Regions from separate parts of the Homo sapiens genome. Here region 2 is linked to region 1. The links are contacts of gene promoters, found by promoter capture Hi-C in blood cells and fetal thymus (Javierre and others, 2016). All regions are on one chromosome and are shown on one strand. Each heading gives the region's core, a stretch centred on a gene start or on the middle of the fragment in contact. The rest is flanking DNA. Distances are from core to core; before and after follow the strand shown. Region 1 holds the start of TMEM109 (transmembrane protein 109). Region 2 overlaps LOC105369322 (a long non-coding RNA gene).

Region 1 (2,973 bases), core at 133-2,632:
GGAACAAGCCAGCCGTTTTTCAGCACCAGTGGGATCACACTCCACTCACTCAAGATTCACCGCGTTCCACCCCTCATAGGAGGGAGCGTGCAGGTGAGTGGGTGCAGGAGCCAGAGCGTGCGCTTTTGGACACCGGCAGGAGCGAACTCCGTGCAGGCCCCGGGGCAGTGTCCAGGCAGAGTGCCTGAGGCTCCTGAAGCCCCAGAGGGCATGTTACAGTGTTCTTTTGGCTCTGTCGTCCGTGGACAGCTTAAGTGTTAACAGCTCCGTGGGCCCGCGGTTGCCCTCCACCAGCAAGGGCAGAGGGCCAGCGTGACAGCTTTTGTATCCGCACTCGTGGCTCCCGAGCTCTTGTCCAGCGTCCAAGAAAAATAAAGCTGCACGAACAAATTAAAGGACAAATGCCTGGGATTTTATTGCTGATCAAAGTGGATTTCAGAGGGAAGGTGAGCTGAAAAGAGGGGGGTGGGACAGGCCGGTATGTAGTCTTCCCTTGAAGTCCAGCTATCTCCAGCCAGATTCGTCTCAGAAGTTACGCCTTAAGCTGTCCCTCTGAAGACAAGCTGCTTCTCTCTGACATCCAGCCATGGTCGTCCCCTCATCCAGCTGCTTCTCCTCTCTGCCAGATGAGTCTGGGGTCTTTCTAGGCACAGGATGAGGCAGGGCAGAGCCATGGGTGGCTTAGGAAAAGGCAACATTCAACTGGAAAAACATGGATAGAAGTTCTCACTTTGGGCCATGGTTTCAGGCTTTTTGGCTTGAGGGTGGGGTTTCACCAGGGACCCGCTCTTTTCTACCTAGCATTTATCTGCCTCCTGTCCCTATGCACTGCCTTTGTGGCAGAAAAAGGAGAGTGAGAGTTGGTTCCTCTCTTTCTCTGAAATTCTGAGCTAACATTTGGGAGCCGTCTACAGTATTCAGGTATGAATTTTCTCTCTGGGGGAGCGCATTCGTTTTCCTAGAGCAGTGTGCTTTTAATTGCTCCTTTAATATCTTTCTCTTTTGTGCCTTTTTAGCGCGAAAAGTGTATGGGAAGACTAGGTGCTCGTTAGCGGCTCGGTTAGAACTACATTGCCCACAATGCCCCAGGGAACATTTGTAGCTCTAGAACTACATGACCCAAAATGCCGAGTGGTGGCAAGAGGAGGATTAGCTTCCACTCCGATTTCAAAGATCCAGTTTACCCACTCTACAGCCCAGATATAGTCACTTATTTCCCCTTTCCAGCCAGAGACTTCCGTTCCCTGCTGGAACTTCCGATCCCATTCTTCTCTCGGTGGGAATGCTTGTGGGGGGAAAAAGAAACGCAATAGATAAAGCGGGGCGCATGCGCTCCCGGCACAGGCTTCGATTGTGAGGAAGGCCGGCTAGTCTCCGAGCTCATCCCGCCTTGCGCATGCGGAGAAGGTAAACCAGCGCCCCGAGTTGAGGCGCGGGTTTGGTGGCGCGTTTCAGCGAAGTCGCACGTGAAGGATAGCAGTGGCCTGAGAAAGGTGAGAGCGGGCCGAGGTCGGAATGTGGGGCAGCGCACGGGAAGGGGAGACAGCAGCCGCTGCAGGCGGCACCAGGCGGAGCCGCGAGGCCTGGAGAGTCCGAGTGGGGAGGGGTCCGCGCGCCCAGCGTGCGAAACAAACCGGGGACCCGGATCCCCGTTGCTATGCAACCGGGGGCGTCGTTTCCAGGCAACCCGGGAGGCGCACGTTTCCGGGGAGAAGAGGGTTGCGGCGAGGTTCCGAGGTCCGGCAGAGGTGGAGCGGCTCCCGGGCGTGGGGACCAGGCCAGCGCCAAGCCCGAGCCCCCGAACCCCGACCCACGGCCCAGCCTCCTGCAGCCTCGGCTCGAGCCCTTCGGGGGGCCCCAAACTCATGGGTCGCGCCACGTTCCTTGCCAGCGACGCTACCCCTCAGCGCTTGGCAGGGGACGCGCCGTTCGAAATAGCACATGCCACTGACACCCTGTCTCCGGGAGGCTGCGCCCCGGTTAGGGCGCGGAGCGGCAGGGAAGCTGCCCCTTTGCCGTCGCCCTGCCCCCAAACAGTTGCTGGGCAGCAGCTGTCAGGGGTTTAGTGGGAGCTGCCCCCAACCTGCCAGGGCGCTGACTTCATTCTCTGCAGTGGCGGCTTCGCCTTGTTTAGGACCTTCCTTTAGACTCAGCTGTGCTTCTCGTGTGGCTGCTGTATATTTGGATCTACTATTAAAATAACCTCCCTCCTCACCTCTCCATGGCTTTCTCGTTCGACCCTCACGGTTTCTTGGCAGGTTGCTAATATTCATTTAATAAACATTTATTAGTCATCTTTCCTACTAGGCGCTGGGGATTCCAACATGTCAAGTCTAACCGGGAGTCGCTCGGTCTACTGGGGAAGGCAGGTTGATAAACTGCTAAATTATGCTACGATATATAGTCAGTGGTAATGTGTGTGCTGCAACATTTCTATAGATGTTTAGTTTACAAAGCGCTTGCTGCAGAAATATCTTAACTCCTTACAGCAACTCTTCACCTGGGTTCACTCCCTTTTACGTTTGAGGAGACTGCAACTCAGGCAGGTTAAGTAACAGGCGTAAGGTAGTAGCTTCTAGTCCGTGGCACACTTGAGCCTGGGACGGAAGTCAGGGGTCCTTTGTACACTGCTGCACTTTTGAAGCTTTGCTTAGACTTTTCCCTGAGCTGCTGGCTATGCATCCGAAATTCCTGAGGAGCTTTGCAAAACAAAGGGCTGAGTCCCTCTCTGGAAGAGTCTGAGTGAGTAGCCCTGGGTGGGGCAGACGTCCTTGTTTAACAGGCTGCACAGGCAGTTCCGATGGGCAGCCAAAGTTGAGAACCGCCGCTCCTTAGGGGCAGCTATGAGCAGCGGCGGGACAGTCAGAGCCGGTAGAGGGCACTTTTTGCCGCCCCTCCTGCCACCTGGTGATTCATAGCATGAAATGAAACTAACAAAAGGAAAGAGAAGAGGAGGAAGGAGCCTTGATTGGG
Region 2 (2,973 bases), core at 338-2,837, 86 kb before region 1:
GTGTTAATGCTGATGTGGTGGCTCTTTAGGAGGCCAAGGCGGGAGGATCGCTTGAACCCAGGAGTTTGAGACTAGCCTGAGAAACATGGTGAGGCCCACTCTCAACCAAAAATATTTTTTTGAAAAAAATTAGCCAGGTATGTTGGTGCAGGCCTGTAGTCCCAGCTACTTGGAAGGCTGAAGTGGGAGGATTGCTTGAGCCCATGAGTTCAAGGCTGCGGTGAGTTATAATCATGCCACTGCACTCCAGCCTGGGTAACAGAGTGAGCCCCTGTTTCTTAAAAAAAATAATAATCATTTGCTTGGAGGAAGATATTCCAGCTGCTTGCCTCCTACCAAGGACGTTCCCCTGTAAGAGCATAGAGGTCAAGGGTGCATTAGGAGGACTGCCAGCATAATAATACCTAAGATTTATCAGTGAGTCCTGCCTTCTGGCTGTGGCCATTGAGGTCACATCTTTTCAAAGACATGTGATTATGTCATGAGATTGCTACCAGGGACCTGGACGTGGCAAAAATGGGGCTGGGAATACTGGGGGAGGAGTTTCCTCTGCTCTCATCCTAGGGAAAGAGAGGAAAGGAGAAACACTCTCTTCAGGTGGGTCTGACACACCATGCAGGGGCGAGGGACACACTGCCCACTGCTGCCCACACTTTGACCACTTCAGTGACCCAGCTGCCCCAGAATCCCCGACCTTCCCCTGTAGCCTGGGGTCCCTGAACGGCCCCAAGACTCAACTTCCTGCCCGTGACCTCACGTGAAACTGATCTTCACCCAGCCCCTCTCTGTGCTTTCCTTATCAGTAGAGGACAAATCATTCCTCCTAGGCCCCCACGACCCTAGTCCACTGTGTTCACCTTCCCTAGCTGCTCTCTCCTCCATCCATGCCTCTCCCTCTCCTCTGGTCCAGAAACTCAAGTCCCGGAGACCCCGTGTCCCTCTCTGACTGTGGTCTCCCCTCTCTTCCCTTTCACAGCAACAATCTCCTACGGACTCCATCTCCTCCTCTCCCGTCTCTACAGACCTCAAGCCCTCTCAGGGCAGCCGCCAGTAGCTTACTGCCAAATACATGCTTTTCCATGTATTTTCTTACTTGACCTTTCTGTACTTTTTTGCTGATGGGTGTCAGTCTGAATGGTTGACCACATGGGTCTTGGAATTGGATGGGTCTGAATCCCAGCTTTCACATACCAGCTGTGTGGCTTTGGACAAGTACCTCAATTTTTCTGAACCTCTGTTTCATCCTCTGTGAAATGGGGCTAATCAGAGTAGCTATCTAATAAGGCAACTAAGATTAAAATAAGCACGTAACAGGTGCTCACTAGATGACAGGTCACTCCCCTTCTAGAAAGCTTCCCTTCTTTTATCCATCTCCTTGGTCAGAATCTGCAGACTGATTCCGGGACTGGCTGGCCTGTAAAACTGCCCAGTTTTTGCAGGCTTTGCACCCTGGTTTTGCAGGTGCCCTGGAAGAGTCTCTCGGTGCTGCTGCTGTTCTTCACCATCCTGGCACTAGGCATCGCCTTCTTGTCTACCTTCCTGGGCTTCCATGCCACCTTCTGCTACACCCAGCTGGTGAGTGGGTTGGCAAGGTCTCTGCAGGACAGGCAGGCCCTCACTCGATCCCCAGAGCCTGGACAGGGGAGCCGAGGGAGGAGGGACAACAAGAGGGCTGTGTGGGGAGTGGCAGGCAGAACCCCTCCTGCCATCCTAAACCATCTGTACCATGGCCGTGCTGAGCCCCACTTGGTCTACACTGGGGAGATGCTGTCTTGAAGGACATGTGAGAACAGGGAGGTGGCTAGGGAAGAAGATGTTTACAAAAGCTTATAGCTCAGCACCAAGGTAGAACTGACTAGGACAAGTGCCGCATGGTGCCGCCAGATTCTGGTGGTGGCAGCCGATGCTGCAGGAAGGAAGGGCAGCGGTGAGGCTTCTGGATCCTGGCTGACAACTATAGCCTTACATGCGCTGGGAGACGGTGGTTACAGCAGCTCCCTCCATCAAGGGGCTTCCACAAGCTCCTTCCCCCGACCCTCATGACAGGCCTGAAGGGGCAGGGAAGAGACTGACCACGTGTCACAGATGAGGAAACTGAGGCCCAGAGAACTAAGGTGACCTGGCTGAGATCACATCCATCCCCAGAATCCAGGTACGACTCCCGGGCAACCTTCTCCTCAGGGAAGACCAGAGCTACAAGAAGGACTCAGCCCAAAGCACAAGGTCTGGGGGCTCAGGCTACCACCACGTGGTCTGTGGAGGGCTGTGGGCAGAGAGGAAAGCCTGGATCGCCAGAGAAAGCACAGAAGGAAAACCTAAAAGGATCACAGGGTCACATGGGCTGCTTCTGGGCTGACTAAAGGCGAGTGGCCTTGGCCCTTCCTTCTTCTCCCGACTCCAGTACCTGAACCCAGCTCAGGAACTTCCCACGGCCACAGCAGCCACTCCCAGGATCCACCCACCAGGCCCCACAGCCCCCAGCCACAGCCTGCACTCAAGGCATCTGCTGATCCTGGGAGCTGAGCTCCTCCCAGCATCTGACCTCTGGGGCTCTGCGATCTTCCCCTTCTCCTGGCTGCAGGGTTGGCCTTCCCTTTGTAACACCCAGCCCCAGAGGTCACTACCCCCATCCTCATACACACCCCAGCATGGAGATGGGTCTGCTCTTTCTGTCTAAGAAACATCCCTCAATGTCGCTGTTTTGCTGTCAACAAAAAGTTGACATGTGGCTTGGGTCACATCCACCAGGATTTAGTGACTAAAGTTGCATATCTTGTCCGTGTGTGTGCACAGCAGGGACCCTAGGTGTCTCACGTCTGTATGTGTGGATGGACAAGTATCCACCTGTTCCCCCACTTAATGGATTTGTTACTGGAAACCCTGCTGCTAAGTGAGAAGCTGTTAAATAAAAATATTTTCATGAATGCGGCCAGGCACAGTGGCTCACGCTTGTAATCCCAGCACTTTGGGAGA

The links. Contacts are between HindIII fragments. The CHiCAGO score rates a contact against its expected background, and 5 or more counts as called.
Region 2: a fragment that was not itself captured here is called in contact with the fragment with the promoter of TMEM109 in region 1 in 1 of 17 cell types (fetal thymus); the score reaches 5.3 in fetal thymus.

The regions. Positions count from the first base shown.
Region 1 is chr11:60,912,776-60,915,748 of GRCh38, forward strand. TMEM109 (transmembrane protein 109) reads left to right here and starts at 1,383. Exons shown (of 4, transcript NM_024092.3): 1 at 1,383-1,493. TMEM109-DT (TMEM109 divergent transcript) reads right to left here and starts at 1,288. Exons shown (of 2, transcript NR_186356.1): 1 at 1,185-1,288; 2 at 391-702. RefSeq lists enhancers at 1-620, 1,619-2,617, 2,012-2,181 and a silencer at 1,672-1,831. The HindIII fragment of the contact is 3,992 bases long and covers 1-2,642 here.
Region 2 is chr11:60,826,410-60,829,382 of GRCh38, forward strand. All of the region lies in intron 2 of LOC105369322 (a long non-coding RNA gene), which reads right to left. Among named protein-coding and RNA genes, the nearest start is that of CCDC86, 14 kb to the right of the region's middle. The HindIII fragment of the contact is 474 bases long and covers 1,351-1,824 here.